Regions from separate parts of the Homo sapiens genome. Here all the other regions are linked to region 1. The links are contacts of gene promoters, found by promoter capture Hi-C in blood cells and fetal thymus (Javierre and others, 2016). All regions are on one chromosome and are shown on one strand. Each heading gives the region's core, a stretch centred on a gene start or on the middle of the fragment in contact. The rest is flanking DNA. Distances are from core to core; before and after follow the strand shown. Region 1 holds the start of CD1D (CD1d molecule). Region 2 overlaps IFI16 (interferon gamma inducible protein 16). Region 3 overlaps AIM2 (absent in melanoma 2). Region 4 overlaps PYHIN1 (pyrin and HIN domain family member 1). Region 5 has its middle 18 kb from the start of PYDC5. Region 6 holds the start of FCRL4 (Fc receptor like 4). Region 7 holds the start of MNDA (myeloid cell nuclear differentiation antigen).

The links. Contacts are between HindIII fragments. The CHiCAGO score rates a contact against its expected background, and 5 or more counts as called.
Region 2: a contact is called between a fragment that was not itself captured here and the fragment with the promoter of CD1D in region 1, in 5 of 17 cell types (fetal thymus, naive CD8 T cells, total CD4 T cells and 2 more). The highest score is 10.6, in fetal thymus.
Region 3: a contact is called between a fragment that was not itself captured here and the fragment with the promoter of CD1D in region 1, in 4 of 17 cell types (naive CD8 T cells, neutrophils, naive CD4 T cells and 1 more). The highest score is 7.2, in naive CD8 T cells.
Region 4: a fragment that was not itself captured here is called in contact with the fragment with the promoter of CD1D in region 1 in 1 of 17 cell types (neutrophils); the score reaches 6.1 in neutrophils.
Region 5: a fragment that was not itself captured here is called in contact with the fragment with the promoter of CD1D in region 1 in 6 of 17 cell types (endothelial precursors, neutrophils, naive CD4 T cells and 3 more); the score reaches 8.9 in endothelial precursors.
Region 6: a contact is called between the fragment with the promoter of FCRL4 here and the fragment with the promoter of CD1D in region 1, in 1 of 17 cell types (total B cells). The highest score is 7.3, in total B cells.
Region 7: a fragment that was not itself captured here is called in contact with the fragment with the promoter of CD1D in region 1 in 2 of 17 cell types (naive CD4 T cells and monocytes); the score reaches 5.5 in naive CD4 T cells.

The regions. Positions count from the first base shown.
Region 1 is chr1:158,179,518-158,182,217 of GRCh38, reverse strand. CD1D (CD1d molecule) reads right to left here and starts at 1,323. Exons shown (of 6, transcript NM_001371762.2): 1 at 1,056-1,323; 2 at 497-763; 3 at 1-186. The coding sequence starts at 1,116. RefSeq lists an enhancer at 793-852 and a silencer at 2,265-2,314. The HindIII fragment of the contact is 7,344 bases long and covers 1-2,700 here.
Region 2 is chr1:159,033,550-159,036,258 of GRCh38, reverse strand. All of the region lies in intron 7 of IFI16 (interferon gamma inducible protein 16), which reads right to left. Among named protein-coding and RNA genes, the nearest start is that of IFI16, 25 kb to the right of the region's middle. The HindIII fragment of the contact is 563 bases long and covers 1,130-1,692 here.
Region 3 is chr1:159,060,798-159,063,497 of GRCh38, reverse strand. It overlaps AIM2 (absent in melanoma 2), which reads left to right. Exons shown (of 6, transcript NM_004833.3): 5 at 1-12; 6 at 780-1,014. The coding sequence ends at 806. Among named protein-coding and RNA genes, the nearest start is that of AIM2, 15 kb to the left of the region's middle. The HindIII fragment of the contact is 2,288 bases long and covers 296-2,583 here.
Region 4 is chr1:158,937,977-158,940,676 of GRCh38, reverse strand. PYHIN1 (pyrin and HIN domain family member 1) reads right to left here. Exons shown (of 9, transcript NM_152501.5): 3 at 2,135-2,280; 4 at 1,430-1,597. Among named protein-coding and RNA genes, the nearest start is that of PYHIN1, 7.8 kb to the right of the region's middle. RefSeq lists an enhancer at 1,181-2,380. The HindIII fragment of the contact is 1,363 bases long and covers 769-2,131 here.
Region 5 is chr1:158,983,024-158,985,723 of GRCh38, reverse strand. It overlaps a transcript of PYHIN1 not described here. Among named protein-coding and RNA genes, the nearest start is that of PYDC5, 18 kb to the left of the region's middle. The HindIII fragment of the contact is 1,925 bases long and covers 314-2,238 here.
Region 6 is chr1:157,596,683-157,599,382 of GRCh38, reverse strand. FCRL4 (Fc receptor like 4) reads left to right here and starts at 1,298. Exons shown (of 12, transcript NM_031282.3): 1 at 1,298-1,469. The coding sequence starts at 1,439. The HindIII fragment of the contact is 1,174 bases long and covers 158-1,331 here.
Region 7 is chr1:158,830,639-158,833,338 of GRCh38, reverse strand. It overlaps MNDA (myeloid cell nuclear differentiation antigen), which reads right to left and starts at 1,988. Exons shown (of 7, transcript NM_002432.3): 1 at 1,782-1,988. It also overlaps a transcript of OR6N1 not described here. The HindIII fragment of the contact is 873 bases long and covers 993-1,865 here.

The DNA of each region.
Region 1 (2,700 bases), core at 74-2,573:
TCCACTTGTCCTGGTTGAGCACTTGAATGGCCAAGTTTACCCAAAGTGGGGCCTCTTGGGTTGGCTCCCAAGAAGTTCCTTGGAAACTCAGGATATCTTTTCCTTGAAATGCTACATGGAAGAAGTTATTTGAGGCGTTCCCAGGGTGCACCTCACAGCCAGCGGACACCTGGAGCTCCAAGGGATCTGTGGAGAGGAATGGAGAAAGATCAAAGAAGGGTTTAAAAGACTGGGAGAGATGAAAGAGAAGAAATTGATGTGCAGGTTATAATGGGGACCCAGACTTCAGGGAAAGGAAAGTAAGTGACCTGGAGTAGGCAGGAACGAGGGACACTTTGAGGAGTCAAAGCCTGGGACATCTCCAGGTAGAAGGGAAATCAGAAGAGGGTGGACAGAGCAGAGAATCTCATCAGGTGGTGCCACAGTCTCCCAGTTGAGTTTCTGTGGCCATTCTCTCCCCTTGGGTACCGGCCCAGGATCCTATCCCTCAGCTCACAGGATAAGCGTAGCATTTTGGCGAATTCCTTCACGTCCCTGGTGAAGCTGCTTCGATAAACCCGAAATATATGCTGCAGCGTCTCCCACTGCTGGTCGCTGAACGTGCCCTGGGACCAAGGCTTCAGAGAGCGGACGGTGTCCGAGTCGTTGCTCCAGCTGTGCGTCTGCAGCTCCCCCAGCCACGCCAAGCCGTCGGTGCGCGTCCAGCTGCTATTGGCGAAGGACGAGATCTGGAGGCAGCGGAGGGGGAAAAGCCTTTGCGGGACTGGGAGAGAATGAAGATTGGAGGCGTGTAGCAAGTGGCCGGGAGAGCAGCCAGCATAAAGAGAAGGAAGAAAGAAACAAGAGGAGATGAGCTTCAGGAGGCGGCTGATGCCAGCGAACTCTGTGCCGCGCTGCCTCTCCCCGGAGCCAGGGAGCAGCGAGTTTTCTACCTAGATCGCGCCAGTGCGTCCCGGGTCTCACCAGTCCCCATCAGGCGTTGCCCTCCCCGTCCCTACCCAGCTCCCTCTCTCCGCCCTCCCGCGAGTGCACTCAAGCGCCCTCGTTCCACCCACCTTCAGCGCTTCCCCAAGCCTGGAGGAGCGCCCAGAGCAGCAGAAACAGCAGGCACCCCATATCGCCCGGCGTGGGGACCTCGCGGAGCGCCGCTGCGCGCCGCCCTCTGACCTGCGCACTCTTCTCCCCCGCCGCTCAGCTCACGTCCCTTTCCGCTGGGTGCCAGCCAATTCCCAAGCCCAGACCCCGGCAGCCCTCCTCGCTGGGCTTGCCGGCGGTTTGCTGCTTCTGCCGAAGGGCGCCCTCGCCCTTAGCTGTGCGAGCTGCAAAGAGGTCGGGGTCCCAGGAATCCTGGCGCCGCCGCTCACTTCAGTAGGTTTCACAACCGGCGTGTCTCAATTTCCTGTTTCAAAGGAGACTTTGGGTCAACGTGTGGGACGCTTTACAACCATTATTTATGTTTTGGAAGCAGGACATAAGGTTGTGTCTGTGTTACAATTCCAACCATGGTAAAAATGCAAAGGGAAAAAAGGATCAAAGTCCTTGCTTTAGCAGTACATGTCTCTAGGTGGAAAGACTATGAGTGATCTTAATTTGCTTTACATCTTTATGTTTTCCAAAATTTCTCAAGTGCAAGTACCACATTTACAATAAAGTAAACGCATGAAAATTAATTTCCTCAGTTGCACATTGAGAGAACTGGATTAGGTTGGCTACAATTCTTTACAACTGTCATATCCCAGGATTCCTCCACCTCAGTGTTCCCTAGCCTCTCTTTCCTCCTGTCATGGTCCTTGCTCTCCCCTCCCCGGCCTCTGCTCTGTCTTCCCTGTCTCCTTTTTGGGGACGCGCCCCCAGACTCTCTTCCTCCTCTCCGCCCTAGGCTCTGCCGGCATACCTTCTCCTCTGGCTCCTGACTCATTCACTTTCCAAATATGCGCCTCTGTCTTAAACAGTAAGTGTAAGATGACAGTGTGTACCTGGACAGCCAACTCGCCACTTCTCACACTGAAAATAAGAAAAAGTGACCAAAAATCGTGGTTCTAAGCCTTAGCTCACCTGGAGGAAAAGACTCCTCTTTGGCAACTCAGAACCTGGGCTGCAGCCTGACACCTCCCTCTCCCTCACTCTTTTTATCCAATCTATCTCCAACTCATCTCTATTTCACTTCTTTTTGAATACCTCTTGAATAAATTCCTTTTTCTATATTTCCACCGTCACCATCACCCTAACCTTTTGACTGATCTCCTGAAGTAGCATTCTTGGGTAGAAAACAAAATCATTAGCACGGCCTGCAAGATTATGCGCCCTCTAGCCCTGGTGTCTACCTTTTGACATCACCTCACACCCCAGCATCATTTGCTCTGTACTGTAGCCTGGCTGTTAGCTTTCAGTTCCTCCACTATGCAAAACCTCTTCCTGACTAAGGTCTCTGCACAAAGTTCCCTCTACATGAAAGCTCTTGACCTTCTCCTCACCTCACCCCCTCCCAATGCCTAGTTATTTCCACTAAGGTATCAGTTCCAAGGTCACTTTCTCAGGGAAGTCTTTCCAGATCTGCCAGACTGTGTGACCCTAGGCAGGAGAAGTAGGGCAGTCCCAACCTCCACTGCTTGTACACTAACTGGCTTTGAGAAGCCATCCTCTCAGCATGTAGCAGAGTTTATAATTATAGAAATGGCCATATGTCTGTCTCCCTCTGTG
Region 2 (2,709 bases), core at 162-2,661, 850 kb before region 1:
ATGAGGCTGAGAATAGCATCAATCATGACTGTTATGAGGAAAGAATGCAACAATATACATAAAGAATACAGGTTTTAAAACCAGCACCTAGTAAGTGCTTACGAAGTAGAAATCCGATTTATGTCACTGTTGTTACACTGTCTCTGCAGGGATTTGTATGTGTGTTCTGATTAACTGCCGTCTCATATTCTGTTTACCTTGTTGACAGAAACCCTAGATCGAGTTGGTATGGGAAGCTTTTTATTAAAGAGACTTCTCTATTCATTTCTGCCACTTATTCACGAGAGTACCTTGGAGTATTATCTTCTCAAATTCATTTAAGTAAAACAGTCCCATAACCAGAGTAGAATTTAGATGAGAGAAATGTAATCTTTGGTTGAATAATATTTTAAATCACTATGTAATTTTTTTTCTTAGAGCAATTATCTCCCCTCCCATCCCTGCTCCTGATTCATGTCAATTTATGTTTCTTGCTTTAGGTGTACAGAACAGAAAAAAAAAAATCAATGATAAGAATAGCCTGTTTGTTTTAAATCTCAATGAATATAGAGCGTATACCATAGAGAAAATCTTTGGGAAACCCTATGATCAGTGGAACAAGACTATACTCACCTGCGAGTCACTAGGAAAGTAGTTAGACAGACAACTGTATTTACAGACGATAGTGGACACCCAAGAATAAATGGCTGCGTAGTGTGTTTAGGTGCATGAGGCCATGAAGGCATATAATCCTCCTGGGATTCCTGTGCTCCAGGGAAGTTCACATACAGCACAATCATTTGTACAGCTGTAGCAAGGGTTGTGATTCATATTTTAGCAGGTGGGACTTAGAAATTCTCACATAATCCTTTCAAAGAAATATGAGTGATAAAAGCATAGTTGTTTGGAGATGCCACTTTAGTCACTGAAAAGGCACAAAGAAAATGGATCTTAGGTTGCAATGACTGAGCAAGGGCTCCTTCCACAGCCACCTGTGCCAAGATGGCAAAAAGACACAGGTTCTGTTCTTCAAATAACACCTGCATAAACTATGGAGGGAAATACAGCTTTCTGAAGCTAGCTAAAAATTACAACAATGAAAACAAACCAAAAAAAAATCAAAATAGAGAATCCTTAAATATAGGAAGCTTCTCTTCCAGGATGTGTACATGGTGGCTGGAGGTATCTGCTGCTGGGTCAGAATACAGCTTGGGGCTTGGGTAAGAAGCAACTGTAAAAAATAATGATTTAATCCTTCTGCTTTTCCTCCAAGTTTCCTGCCCCTTCACCACAGGTACAGGCTTCCGAACCCTCAGTGCAGGTGACTACAAGGGTCATATCACTGCTGAGCAAAAGGTAATCTGGAATAAGAATTGATGCACATAGCATGAACTGACTTTTTCCCCTCTTGTATTCTGTTCCTCTGGGGTAGACGCTACCTACCATCTGAGCTTATGGTATATAAAAGGAGAAAATTACTCCCACACCCCAATTGTTTAAATGCTATTAGGAAAAATAAAGGGAGCTAGGAAAGCTCACAAAGGGAGGACCAGAGAGAACCAACTATGGGAGGATCTCACCTAATCTGAAACGTGGTTGCCAGTGAGGACTTGCTCTAGGAAGGGATTTAGGCTGGGGCCTGTGGAGAGTTGGGTTCAAGAAGAGACTGGAGAAAGTGATCCCAGCAAAGGAAGCAATCTATATGTCAAAGCTTCTCATTTGGAAAAGACCATCGATATTTTAAAATAAAACCTGGAATGTGGTCATGAACGAAGTGAAAGGATGAAAGGTAATTGGAATAAAGATAATGAACATATTCTTGTATTCATCTTCCTCCATCTGGCTACTTCCCCACAATCTCTCTCTACACCTGGATCAACAAAAGACAGTAATCCTCTTGAGTCAGGAAGCACTTCATGAACGCATACCTTGTAAATATCAAAAGACACAGAGACTAGTAGGGTCTCAATGAATATACTTAATTAATAGTGAGAAATTTAATCACATACATTTTACTTGATTAAATTACTCTTTCTCTTTCCTGCAGCTCTTCAGGCTCCAGGAAACCCAGCCTTATGTTGCTTTAGATGTTTTGATCATCACTTTGCTAGAAAGATTCTTTAAAATCCACAATTCCAGATGCAGAATTCTGCTGTTTTGTAGTCTGCATCAGCCAGCTAGAATCCTTCAAGGTTCTCAAATGTATTTAGAAATATTGAAGAACTTACCTTGGCATTACCAAGTAAGTGATTTTTTAAAAATACTCTTTACCAAGGGCAAGGAAGTATAACTTCCTTTATTTTGACTATTTTTAACCTTTTTTGTTATTTATTAATATTAGTTTAATTTCCATAGTTCTACCACTTCTGTCATTCAGATATTTAATATAGAAAATGCACTCTGTTAGAGAGGCGAATGAAAGGATTCTACTTCTGGAGGGTGGTTTACTTATTAGAACACACTCTGATCACCACTGGCCACATTTGTTATCAGAAGGTTTGCAAAGCGTGGGCTATGTAACTGTTACGTGACTAATAAATAAATTACTGACATGGCATATATAAACTCCTAATCTAAAGCCATATATAATCATTAATTTTTCACGTTTTAGGTTTAAATAAGACTGGATATGAATCATGACTCTAATTTTCTTTGAAAGCTTGAGGAAGATTTTTAACCTTTCTGTACCTCTATTTTCTTCTCTGTGAATTGGGGCAGAATTAGCATCCT
Region 3 (2,700 bases), core at 190-2,689, 880 kb before region 1:
AGCACCATAAAGGTGGGAACTGCATGGAACAAAGTCAACTCTCCAAGGGGGTGATATTTTTTGTTTTCTATCAGAAAGCCGGACTGGAGCCATTGAACAGGATATAGAGTGGAAGACATTGATATTTAGTACACGTTCATCTCACAGAACTGAGGAACCTCCCTCTTAGGAAACATGTATTCTAGATACACAGTTAAGAGAACATGGGCTTTTCAAGGCAGAGGCGCATATTGTTGTGCCCACAGAGCCCAAAAAAGAGCTCCTTATTTATACTACAAGTCTAAAGCAGAAAGCTTGCCCAGAGTCGGAAAAGTCATTCTGACTAATGTCTTTGAAAGTAGACAGACAATAAATACTTTGAGGACACATTTCCCTAGCCAGTCCCACCACGTCTGCACCTACCATAGTCCAGTGCAGTTAAGTCCATGTAAACCCCTACTCTTGACCTTCCACCACACCCTCCTACCCGTGTCCTGCCACTACTTGGTGCTCTTCCCCAGGTCTCAGTGTTGGTTGCACTGCCTGCTATCTCTGTAAGAGTGGAGGCCAAGATTTGAGAAATATGCGTATGTGACCTTGCTAAGTGGGAGTGTATTTCTCAGGTCAGATATTCACTTCAGGAGTATGATCCAAGGCAGACCAATGTATTAGAAGGGTGGGAACAAAATAATTTTATGAGAAGATGATACATACACTTCAGAAGGCCATAGTGACTGCAAACAGTGGAGGGGCCACTCATCGACTGCATCTCAGACTGCATGTTTTTTTTCTCCATCCAGGTTATTAAGGCCAAAAAAAAAACATAGAGAAGTAAAAAGGACCAATTCAAGCCAACTGGTCTAAGCAGCATTTAATTGAAGAATATGTGATACAGCCTCTTCAATCAGATTGTAAGTTACCTGAAAGCTGCAGTTCACAGGCTCCTCTCTCCACCAAATTAGGATAGAATAATTGCTGGATAAACAAATTCAGAATATCAACAGATGATCACAATAAACATCTGTTTCTCATTCATTACAGTCCCACTATCTCCTTTAGTTTGTCAATCCCTTGTCTCAAGCGAAAATACTTTATCAATGTATTATATGATGTTTATACAAATTTAAAAGTAAACTATATGACAACAATTGCACAAAATACAAGAGGGAAGAATTAGGAGTACACTGTTAGAAGATCCTGTACAACATGTGAAGCAGCGCAGTATTATTTGAAAGTAGATACTGAATAATTAAAGATGTATATTTTGTCCCATAGGGCAATGATTTAGAAATATTTTAAAAGGTATAGAAATAATAACACAATTTTGTGTTATTGGAGAAAGAATAAGCATAAAGCCCAATGGAAAACTAGAGAGCCAAAACTAGGCTTGCACATTTACAGTCTATTGATTTCTACAAAAGTACAACACAGTTCAGTGGAGAAAAGACTAAAAAAAAAGCTACAACAACAATTAGATATCCATACTTAAAAAAATGAATCTGAGCCATTCCTCACTCTTTATACAAAAATAAACTCCAAACAGATCATTGGCTTTTCATAAACAGCTAAAACCATAAAACTTCTACAAGAAAACATGGGAGAAAATCTGTGTGATCTTGGTGTAGGCAAAGATTAAAGATTTAGATATCACACCAAAAGCACAATCTACATAACATAAATGCTTAATAATTTGAACTTCATCAAAATGAAGAACTTCTGTTCTTCAAAAGGTACCATTAAGAGCATTGAAAGGCAAACCATAGATTGGGGCTTAATATTTGTTAGTCACACAGCTGCTGAAGACCCTGTATCCAGGCCAGGCACGGTGGCTCACACCTGTAATCCCAGCACTTTGGGAGGCCCTGGCGGGTGGATCACCTGAGGTCAGGAGTTTGAGACCAGCCTGGCCAACATGGTGAAACCCCATCTCTACTAAAAAAAAAAAAAAAAAAAAAAAAAATAGCCGGGCACGGTGGTGGGCACCTGTAATCCCAGCTACTCGGGAGGCTGAGGCAGGAGAATCACTTGAACCCAGGAGGCGGAGTTTGCAGTGAGCTGAGATTGCGCCATTGCACTCCAGCCTGGGTGATAGAGTAAGACTCTGTCTCAAAAAACAAAAAGATCCTGTATCCAGAATTTATAAAGAACACTCAAAATTCAATAATTGCAGAACAACCAATTAAATGTTTAAAATGGGCAAAAAGATGATACATGGATGTCAAATAAGCACATAAAAATACACTCAACATAATTCATCTTTAAGGAAATGGAAACTAAAACTACAGTGAGATGCCATTATATATTTATTAGAACAGCTAAAATTTAAATTAAAATAGATTACCCATACCAAGTGCTGACAAAGATTTGGAAAAACTGAAACTCTTGTGCACTGCTGGTGGGAATGTCAAATGGTATAACCTTTATGCAAAAGAGTTTGTCCATTTTTAAAAACTTAATATGCATCTACAATGCTAAGGTCTGAGAAGGATACAGAGCAATTGAAACTCTTACTTATTGCTGGTGGGAATGAAAAGTCACATTAGAAAAGAGTTTGGAAATTTCTTATAAATTTAAACATATGCTTACCACATGACACAGCAAGCTTGCTGTAAGTTTTTTATCCACTTGAAATAATTATGTATGTTCACACAAAAATCTGCATGTAAATATTCATGAAAGTTTATTTGTAATTATGCAAAAGTGCAAAAAACTCGATTATCC
Region 4 (2,700 bases), core at 201-2,700, 760 kb before region 1:
GTGGTGTGGTTTCATCACTTGTTGCCCTTCATAATTGATCCCCTTTATTGTGTATCAGAAATATAGAACATTTTTTTAATAATAAAGCTCATTAGAGTTTCAATTAGTTTTTAGACTATTGCTGATACATGCATATAGTAAGGCTGACCTGTCCAAATTTGAGATGAGTACAGCATTATAAGGATTATCAGAATCATGCAATTATTAATTGTAATTTACTTTCTTTCATTTGTAAGTCTTGGTGTATCGTCTTCTGCCTGCCTACATTTTCCCAAACTCCTGAGCTCTCTTCCCTATTCCATCACTTCCCTTTGTTTTTACAACCTTTTGGCCTCACAATAGGTATCTTTGACTGAGTCAGATGACCTTTATTTGTCATTTGCTTAGCTGTAGTGGTTCATATCTTAGAATATGGTTTCCTTTTTTTTTTTTTTTTTTACTTTTTTATTTTGAGATGGAGTCTCGCTCTGTCACCCAGGCTGGAGTGCAGTGGTGCGATCTCAGCTCACTGCAACCTCCACCTCCCTGGTTCAAGCAATTCCCCTGCCTCAGCCTCCTGAGTAGCTGGGATTATAGGCGTAAGCCACCATACCCAGCTAATTTTTTTGTATTTTTAGTAGAGATAGTGTTTCACCATGTTGGCCAGACTAGTCTCAAACTCCTGACCTCAGGCAATCCACCTGCCTCGGCCTCCCAAAGTGCTGGGATTACAGGCGTGAGCCACTGGGTTTTCATTTTTTCGTTGAGCAAAGGTATTTATTGGAAGCTTCCCATGAGGCAGACACTGAACTAGGCCCTCGTTTACAGTGGTCCACAGAATTACAAACTAGCCCTAATCTTGGAACTACTTTGAGTAGGTGGGAAAGATAAACACTTATTAACTTCAGTTGTCATAAACAGTAGAAAAGAAAGAAGTTCCTAGGAAACAGAACACCATGAAGATTTAACCTGTTACAGGGGTCTAAGTGAGGATTCCCTGAGGATAAGATCTCAATATTGGGATCCAGAGGGTGGATAGGGTTGGCCAGGTAAGAGTTTAAAGGTGAAAGAAATATGGTGTGTGAAAATCCTAAAGGAAAAAGGAGCATGGTGTATGTCAGAGAAACTTGAACAAATTAGTGAGCAAAGGGAATGGGTGTATAATAGATGGGGGCAGTAGACAGTGAGTCTGTTGCTGAAAGTTCCAGATTCCGCAGTTCTCTGTCTCTTCCCCAAACAGCACAGGACAGAAAACTTCCTGCAGTCAGAGATAATGTCAAGTTCATCAAATATGCCTGTGGAAGCAAAAGATTAAAATGCAGTGAATTCTCAGTCTATACATTTGATTTACTGGCTGATGATTGATGTCATTTTTCAGTAGAAGATGAAATCAGATTCCTACATTTTGGGTTGAAGAAAATGAATCAAAAGGGGACCAGGAAGAGTGTACCTCAGTTGAGGAAGTGTTGGGTGGAGCTGATGATGAGGTCTGGGGAGGTGGGGAACGGCCCATGGCTGTGGACGTGCTGGCTCCTGCAGAGCAGGAAGGCCGAGTCTGCTCTTTGGACATCTTACTCCTTTTGGTTCCAGTCTCTTCTTCAGATGGTTTTTTTCTTTTCTACAAGTAGTTTATTTTTCTTGTTAATTACTTTCAGTGTCAAATGAAGCAGAGCACATTTTCATTACAAGGTAATATATTTATTGTATATAAATTGTTTTTCTTGGAAACTTAAGTACATCCCCAGGCCAATTGAAAGAACATGGCATAGATGGTTTCATTTTTAAAAAGGGAGCAGAGAAAGTAACACACATCATTCCTTAATTACTTGTGTTTTGGGATATGCTGACTTGCAGTTAAGAAACTAGGCTTTTGTAAACATAGGCAAACGTTTTTTTATCTGACTCTCAAGTTAACATCCTTCTCTATTGGAGATGAAAATATTATATTTATTTTATGTATATTTACATTATGTTTACTAAAGCGTTTAACTTGTTGCCTTGCAGAAAGATGATCAATTATTATGTAATTTGATAAATCTGAAACTTGATGGGAAACATATGAAGAAATAACTGCCTGCTGGACAGATTGAGTGGAACAGCCACAGCAGAGCTTCCACTGTGAGACTTGAAGCCTGCTCCTCTTCCTGAAGCTTACCTGAGGTCCAAGAGTCTCCTCTGCTCCTTTAGCTGTGAGACGGTTGCTTGGGGTGCATGCAGGTGTAGCAGGATACACTTCTTTCTGTTTCGTCTTTTTAGATGGGATTATTCCTTTGACTGGAATGGATTCAATTTTATTTGCAACTAATGCAGAAAAAAGGAAGATGTATAAACCCAGAGCAGATGATCGGGGACACCCGAAGCAGTTTCAATACTATTTGCTCTTAGCTCCTGCTTGAGGGTTCAGGTGTATTTTAGTCTATCTCTATTGCATTAGCCTAGTCTGGCTTCCAGGAGGCCAGCAGGAGAAACAAAGGCACAAACACTGACTCACACTCCTCAGTGCTTTCATCACTCCTCCCCTGTGCAGTGAGAACATCCTTCCTGTCCTCTGAACTCCATGTGCTCAGTCAAACCCTTTCCCAATCCTATTCTATCATTTCCTTTTAAAATGTAAGGTTCTCATGATGCTGACTGCTTAGTCATATTCTCCAGATAATCTATTTAAATTACAGAAACTAGTGAAAGGAGATGTTAAATAGGTTTGTGAGGTGAGATATGGTG
Region 5 (2,700 bases), core at 27-2,526, 800 kb before region 1:
TGAAAATTTACCTGACCTTGCTAGAGAGGTTGACATGTAAATTCAGGAAATTCAGAGTACCCCAGCAAGATATTACACAAGATGACAATCCCTAAGACACATAGTTATCCAATTCTCCAAGATCAAGGTAAATAAAACATATGAAAGGCAGCAAAAGAGAAGAGGCAGATCATGTACAAAGGGAACCCTTATCACACTAACAGTGGACCTTTCAGCAGAAATTTTTCAAGCCAGAAAAGATTAAAGGCCTACATTCAGCATTCTTAAACAAAAGAAATTCTAACCATGATTTCATATCCAGCCGAACCAAGCTTTGTAAGTGAAAAAGAAACATAATCCTTTTCAGACAAACAAACACTAAGCGAATTTGTTACCATTAGGCCTGCCTTATAAGAGGTCCTTCAGGGAGTGCTGAACATGGAAACAAAAGGCTGCTACCTGCCACAAAACAACACACTTAAGTAAATATTCCACTGACACAATATGCAACTATACAATCAAGTCTACATAACAACCAGCTAATAACACTATGACAGGATCAAATCCTTACATATCAATATTAACCTTGAACATAAGCAGGCTAACCACTCCACTTAAAAGGCACAGAATGGTAAGTTGGATAAAGAAGCAAGACTCAATTACATGCTGTCTTCAAGAGACCCACCTTACATGTAAAGACACAGGCTTAAATTAAATGGATGGAGGAATATCTATAAAGCAAATGGAAAACAAACAAAATAGAGCAGGGGTTGCTCTTTTATTTCAGGAAAAAAAAAACAGACCTTAAACCAAAAGCTATCAAAGAGGATGAAGAAGGGCATCACATAATGATAAAAAGTTCAATTCTACAAACAAGACTTAACTATCCTAAAGATGTGTGCATTCAGCACTGGCACAACCAGATTCATAAAACAAGTTCTTAGAGACCTATGAAGAGAACTAGCTAACCTCACAATAATAGTGGGAGAATACAACACCCTACTAACATTGTTAGATAAATCATTGAGGGAGAAAACTAACAAAGATATTCAGGAACAAAATTTCACACTTGACTAAATTGACCTAACAGACATATAAGGAACATTCCACTCAACAACAGAATATACATTCTTCTCATCTGCACATGGCACATACTCTGTGCCACATGCTTGGCCACATGCTTGGCCATAAAGCAATGCTCAGGAAATTCAAAAAACAGAAATTATATCAACCACACTCTCAGATCACAGTGCAACAAAAATACAAATCAATACCAAGAAGATCTCTGAAAATCATAGAAGTATTTGGAAATTAAACAACTTACTCCTGAATGACTTTTGGGTAATAAATTAAATTAATGCAGAAATCAAGAAATCTTTGAAACTAATGAAAACAAAAATACAATATATCAGAGTCTCTGGGACACAGCTAAAGCAGTGTTAAGAGAAAAGTTTATAGCACTAAAGGCCTACATCAAAAAGTCAGAAATATCTTAAATTTATACCTAACATCACATTTACAGGAACTAGAAAAAACAAAAGGAAACCAACCCCCAAACTAGCAGAAGAAAAATAATAATCAAAATCTAAGTTGAACCAAATAAAATTGAGATGTGAAAATTCACAAAAATAATTAAGAAAACTAAAAATTGGTTTTTTGAAAGAATAAGATATATAGACCACTAGCCAGATTAATATACAAAAAAAAAAAAAAAAACAGGAGAAGATCCAAATAAATACAATTAGAAATGACAAAGGGGACATTACCATGGAACCCACAGAAATACAAAAACTCTCAAAGACCATTATGAACAATTTCTATGCTGAAAAACTAGAAAATCTAGAAGAAACAGATAAATTCCTGAAAACATACAACCTGCCAAGATTGAACCAGGAAGACATTGAATACCTAAACAGATCAATAACAAGTTCTGAAATTGAATCCATAATAAAATACCTACAAACCAACAAAAGCCATGGATCAGACAGATTCACATCTGAATTCTACCTGATAGATAAGGAGGAGCTGATACCAATCCTACCAAAATTATTCCAAAATATTGAGGAGCGGAGACTCTGCCCTGAATCATTCTATGAGGTCAGCATTATTCTGATACCAAAACCTGACAGAAACACAAAGGAAAAACAAATTCAGGACAATATGCCTGATAAATATTGATGCAAAAGTCCTCAAAAAAAAATACTAGCAAACTAAATCCAGCAGCACAGCAAAAGCTAAGCCACCATGATCAAGTAAGCTTTACCCCTGGAATGCAAAGTTGGTTCAACATACGCAAATTGGTAAATGTGATTTATCACATAAACAGAACTAAAAACAAAAATCACGTGATTATCTAAATAGATGCAGAAAAGGTTTCAATAAATTCAACATTCTTTCATGTTAAAAACCCTCAACAAACTAGGTATCAAAGGAACATACCTCAAAATGAGACATCTATGACAAAACCACAGCCAACATCATATCACAAATAGGCAAAAGCTGAAATCATACCTCTTGAGAACCAGAACAAGACAAAGTTGCCTACTCTCACTACTCCTGGTTCAACATAGCACTGGAAGTTCTAGCCAGAGCAGTCAGGCAAGAGAAAAAAAAATAAAAGACGTCCAAATAGAAAGAAAGGAAGTCAAACTACCTCCTTTTGCAGGTAATATGATTCTATACCCAGAAAACCCCATAGCCTTTGCCCCAAATTTCCCAGAA
Region 6 (2,700 bases), core at 49-2,548, 580 kb after region 1:
ATTCTTTCAGCTTGGATGTTACTTCCTCAGGGAAGCCTCTTATGCATCCCCAGAACTGGGTCAGATTTCCCTCTTAGTGGACTCTCAGAAATTACATACAATTCACTTCTATGTAATTTCCTGTTGACTTGCTGTCTTCTCCACCAGAATGAAAGCTTTCCAAGTCTTGATTAACACTGTACTTCCAGCACCTGGCACCATACCTGAAGCACCATGGTGTTTCTTTTTTTTTGCCATTAACATTTTATATATATATATATATATATATATATATATATATATATATATACACATACATATACACAAGATAATAGCATAAAAAAGTTTTAAAGAGTTATACATACCAAAATATTATACGTACCAAAAAACGTCACTACGGATTTTTCCATTTTTTTCTTAATTTTTTTTTTAAGTTCTGGGATACATGAGCAGAGTGTGCAGGTTTGTTATGGGTAGGGAGAGCATTAGGTGTTTCTCAAAACACCAAACAGCATGTTGCCCAGTGTGAAAGAATCCAAATGGCAAAAATCAAAATTTAATAGAATTATTTAAATACCCACTCTGACTTCCTGACGTGAATCGCTTCTCAAGGCTAAAGCCATCATATTTTCAGAACTCTCTAGCCTCTTGTCTTTCAAGGAAATCACAACTTCTTCTCTCTGCCACCAGATACCAGGCATATGTATTTCAATCAATATATATTTGCCAAGACATTCCTGTAGCAAATTTTGGATTCTAGGACATTAAGTAAAAATGTTATGGCCTATTATCTAGGAAGAGCATGATGGGGCTATAATTTACTCCTCAGCTTGCCTTCTACTCAGATCAAAAGTTGTGGTTTCCCCCTGGACTGATGAGTCAGGATATTTTCATATATATCAGACAAGGTGAGAGTTGTCTTGTGATTGAGATGTTTCATCAGGTCTACAGACGGCCTGCTGGAGGTGTTCCAGTAGAGGTATCAGCGGTCAGAGGAGGCCTTTTCTGTGTTGAATGAGAAATTCTTCATCTCTGGGGATATTCAGGGACATCCTTAGATTATGTGGATTTCAATAGGCCTGCAATCTCACCTCATCTCTAGTAGCAGAGAGAATAGGTTGTGATTTCCTTGAAAGACAGAGCCTAGAGAGTTCTGAAACTAGAGTAGCTTTAGCCTTGAGAAGTGATTCACCCCAGGATGTCACAGCAGTACTTAATTCTATTAAATTTTGATTTTTGTGGTCTGGATTCTCTCACACTGGTCCACATTGCTGTTTGGTGTTTTCAGAAAGATTCCTCTACTTCCCCCTTTCACTTCATTATCTCAATCAGCTTTATGCAGAGAAGAAGCTTACTGAGCTCACTGCTGGTGCTGGTGTAGGCAAGTGCTGCTTTGGCAATCTGGGCTGACCTGGCTTGTCTCCTCAGAACTCCTTCTCCAATCCTGGAGCAGGCTTCCATGCTGCTGTGGGCGTCCTTGCTGGCCTTTGGTAAGTGATGGGGAGGAGACCTTTGCTTGCTGCAAAGCTGAGCCTCACCATGAGCAAAAGCCCTCTTTTCTGCTGCTGCAATCATGGATTTTTACTCCCATTTTAGAACAGCAGAAAATGAACAAAAAGGAAAGATAATGATTTACTGGTAGAAGGGGAAAATGATAATAATTGATTTCCAAAGATGTATTTCTCATCTATTTTTGCTATGAATTGCCTATGGAAAATCATTTTACCCCCAAATGGACTTATTTTGTTTATGCAAAAAGAAACCTATGGCTAGGTTCAGTCCCTACGTCACAGAGCATGAGGACCCAGAGGAAAAGATGGACTGAGTTATTTGTGAAGGATAAAGTCCTGATTGTGAACTCAGGTAGAAAGGATCACCTGCTGAGAATAGTTATTTCCTTCTCTGTATTCTAAGTTCAAACCTGTTCTGATGTTTGCAAAGAGCATGAGAAGAGAAGAGATAAGATGATTTCCCTTTGATTTTTTTCTTCCTGCTTTTGTACCACTTGTCAGTGTTTGTCCAAATGAGGCACGGATTTCCTAGTTGCTCAAACTAGGGAATTAAAGAACAGTCAGTCTTTTGTTCATTAAATATTTATTAAGCGTATTTGTCTAGTTCCCACCTGATCCCCAGACCCCAACTAAGGGAAGACCTATTAGTGTGATTGGCACATGATAGGAACTAAGGAGTGAGTGGATGGGTATACTTGGCATGCCACACTGCTGGGCACCACAGAGGATGCAGAGACCTGAAGGACACAGATTCTGCCCTCAAGAGGTGACATTCTCAATAGAACCTCAACGTACACATGCAAGAACATCTGACTCGACAATATGAGAAAAATATTACACAAATAGTTACAGGATAATGTGTGAGGATGTCAGTTAATTTGTGCTAAGCCCTGGCTACATCCCACTTTTCTAAGGGCACCCCATGTATAAATGTATCCAATTCTCTAACATTTGATCAGGTGGAACTTTTATAACTCCCATTTACAAATGAGGAAATGAAGGCACAAAGATGTTGGTCTTGTCCCTGAGGTTTATGCAGCTAGTACAGTGGCAGAGTCAGGATTCGAACCCATAATCTAACTTTGGAAACTAGGCTTTTAACTACTACCCTCTACTGTCTGTCTCATTTTGAGTTCCAAATTAGCTATGATAATAAGTGTTCTGAGTCAAGAGAAGAGGAATCAGCAGCAGCCCCATACTAAAAAATTAA
Region 7 (2,700 bases), core at 180-2,679, 650 kb before region 1:
ATGTTTCTTAACACAATTAAAAGAAAACAATTATTATATTCAAAGCTTTCAGAAGCTTGGCAGTGAAAATATCCATACCCACAGCTCTTTGTGAAGAACTACTCATTATGAAAAGAAATAAATCTAAGAAATGTTGGAGGCCAAAAGGGAAGAAAGATCAAGCAAATACTTTAATTAGTGTTTTTACTATCTTAAAAATAAGTAAAGCCAGAGTCAAATAAAAGAAAACAGGAACTATATGAACATACTCTTAACAGGTGAAGTTGTATGTTTGGGGGACCAGAAGATGTGAGAGTTTGCTAAGGGGCTTGTCTTTAAGGAGAATATAGATTTTTTAAAAATAAGAAACTTGACAAGAAAGGAGAAGAAGAAAGCACAGAATAAGTGCTATAAATTGAAACAAAGTAAGATGGCAAAACCAAGTTAAAATATATACCTTTATAGAATTTGCATATCTGGACTAAACTCATCAACTAGGAGGAAAAATTTTCAATTTGGATTAAAAATAAATCCAGTCATATGTTGTTGACAAAGTACAAATAAAGCATAAGTTCACTTAAGTTTGAGAAAGAGCTGGAAAAGTTATATTCTTCAAACTCTAACTTAAAGAAAGACTTTTTAGGAAAAATAGTGTAGCTTAAAATAGGCTTAAGTCAATAAGTATCAGTACATAGTTTCACTACATAATGGTAAAGTATGCAACTTGGAAAAAGATATAATAATTTAAATTATATTATAAATATAATCTGTTATTACTTTATAAAGTAGCATATAGAAGTTTTTTCTTCTCTCTAAACACACACATAACATATATACTTAGATATACATATTCTATGTAAAAATATATGGTAGAAATCAAAAGAACTACAATGAGAAATTAACAAAATCACTATTAGAGTTGGAGATTTCACCACATCTCTCAGTTACTGAAAGAACAAGGTAAAAAATAGCTTAGATTTAGATTTAGATTTTTCAAACATAATTAACAAGCTTACTTAAGAAACTTTATCTTACTTAAATAGAATTTGGAATCCAACGTTTATAAACTCTTCTCAAGTACTCATGGAGTAATTAGAAAACATTCATATGTACAAAGCCATAAAAAAGTCAAAATGTATCCCAAAGTAGGAAATATATAATTGATTCTCCCTGTCTTTTCATTATACCTTGCCACAAAAAATGTTATCTATGACTGAGTAAAGCATAGACCATTTGAAAAAGAGAATTATTTCTTCTTACACTTGTTGTAAAATGAAGCATAAAATGAAACTGATTCATGAAAATGTAAAGATTATTTTTGAGTAAATGCTTGTAAAATTGAGAAATTAATGTGTGCACATGTCTATGCTTTTTAAAATAGAGATAAAATCATATAATAGAGATTTATATCCTGGTTTATTTTTTACTAAATATTACTTCATAATAATTTTCTTATCTGACTGTCTTGTCTTTTAACTTAGGCCCAAACCCAGTCACCAAGTCATCCTCCAGCCAAGAAAACCAAGTATCTCCTCTAAATATCAATTTATGCCAAAAGACACCCAAGAATTAATTTTTAAAACCTGCTGTAGACAAAATACATTTTTTTGGTTCATACCCCAATTGTGGTAGAATAAAAGATATCCATTTGCTACCTAGACAGTTAAAGCATTCAGTTCTCAGTTTTCTGAATATGATTGATAACAACACTTCTGGTCTCAGGCAATTATTCTCTACTGAGATGGTGTGGTTACCAACTAGATACCTAGATCTTTCTCTAAAGAACTTCCCAGAAATCTCACCTTAATGGATGCTTCTTCCACAATAGTCTTCAGAAATCCTGGAGTCACTGTCTTGTTTAGGACAGAATCACTGTCCGTAAAGCTTTGGAGAGATTAAACTGCAGACTATTTTAATCTTGTAAAGGGCTGAGAAATGAAAGCTAACAAGGAAAAATGGCACTTGTTAGAGCCACTCTCAATCTTGATTGTAGATGGCCTTCTTACACTGTCCTAATTCCTAACTAGAAAGAAGTTATGTAATCATGAAACAATTTTGAAGCCACGCCTATCAGCCTTTGTAGCTTTCTATTTCAGATGTCAGAGAAAGTGGTCAGTTCCTCTTTGTAGTAAGTAATCTCAGTCACAAGGAGAAATGACAGTAAATGGTGCCTCTTCTTCGCTTTTTTGACTTACAAATACTTGCTGAAAGGAGTTTCAAACTCAGAACTTTCTTATAAAGCTAACTTACATATAGGTCATTAGAAACCGGTAGCCGCTTGAATAAGGATCTTAATATAAATTGGGAAAGGCAAAACACCAAAGTTTCTCCCTCCTTTCCTGTTCACAGAGTGGCAGGAGCAGGAGATCTTGGTAGAGATGTCTATTGCTACCAGAACTTGACTTCATCTCTTGGATAGGGGTGGGTCTACTGTGAAATTGTTTTTGTTTAAATAGTACCTACATATTCACCCAGTTATTAATAACTGATACACCTGGAGCTTGACAGAGGCAGAAAGTCATTATGAATATGTAAATCCTTATTCAAATAATTTGAAAGAGTTTCATACTAGTTGCTCTCTTGAGTATAATAACTGAGCTGCCTTACCTTGATTATTAAATTCATGATTACTCATGCTTTTTGCATTATTTATGGATAGTTGGTTCATATCATGACTGAAACCTTGAACATTCTGGAACAGCACTGAAACTCTGGAATGAT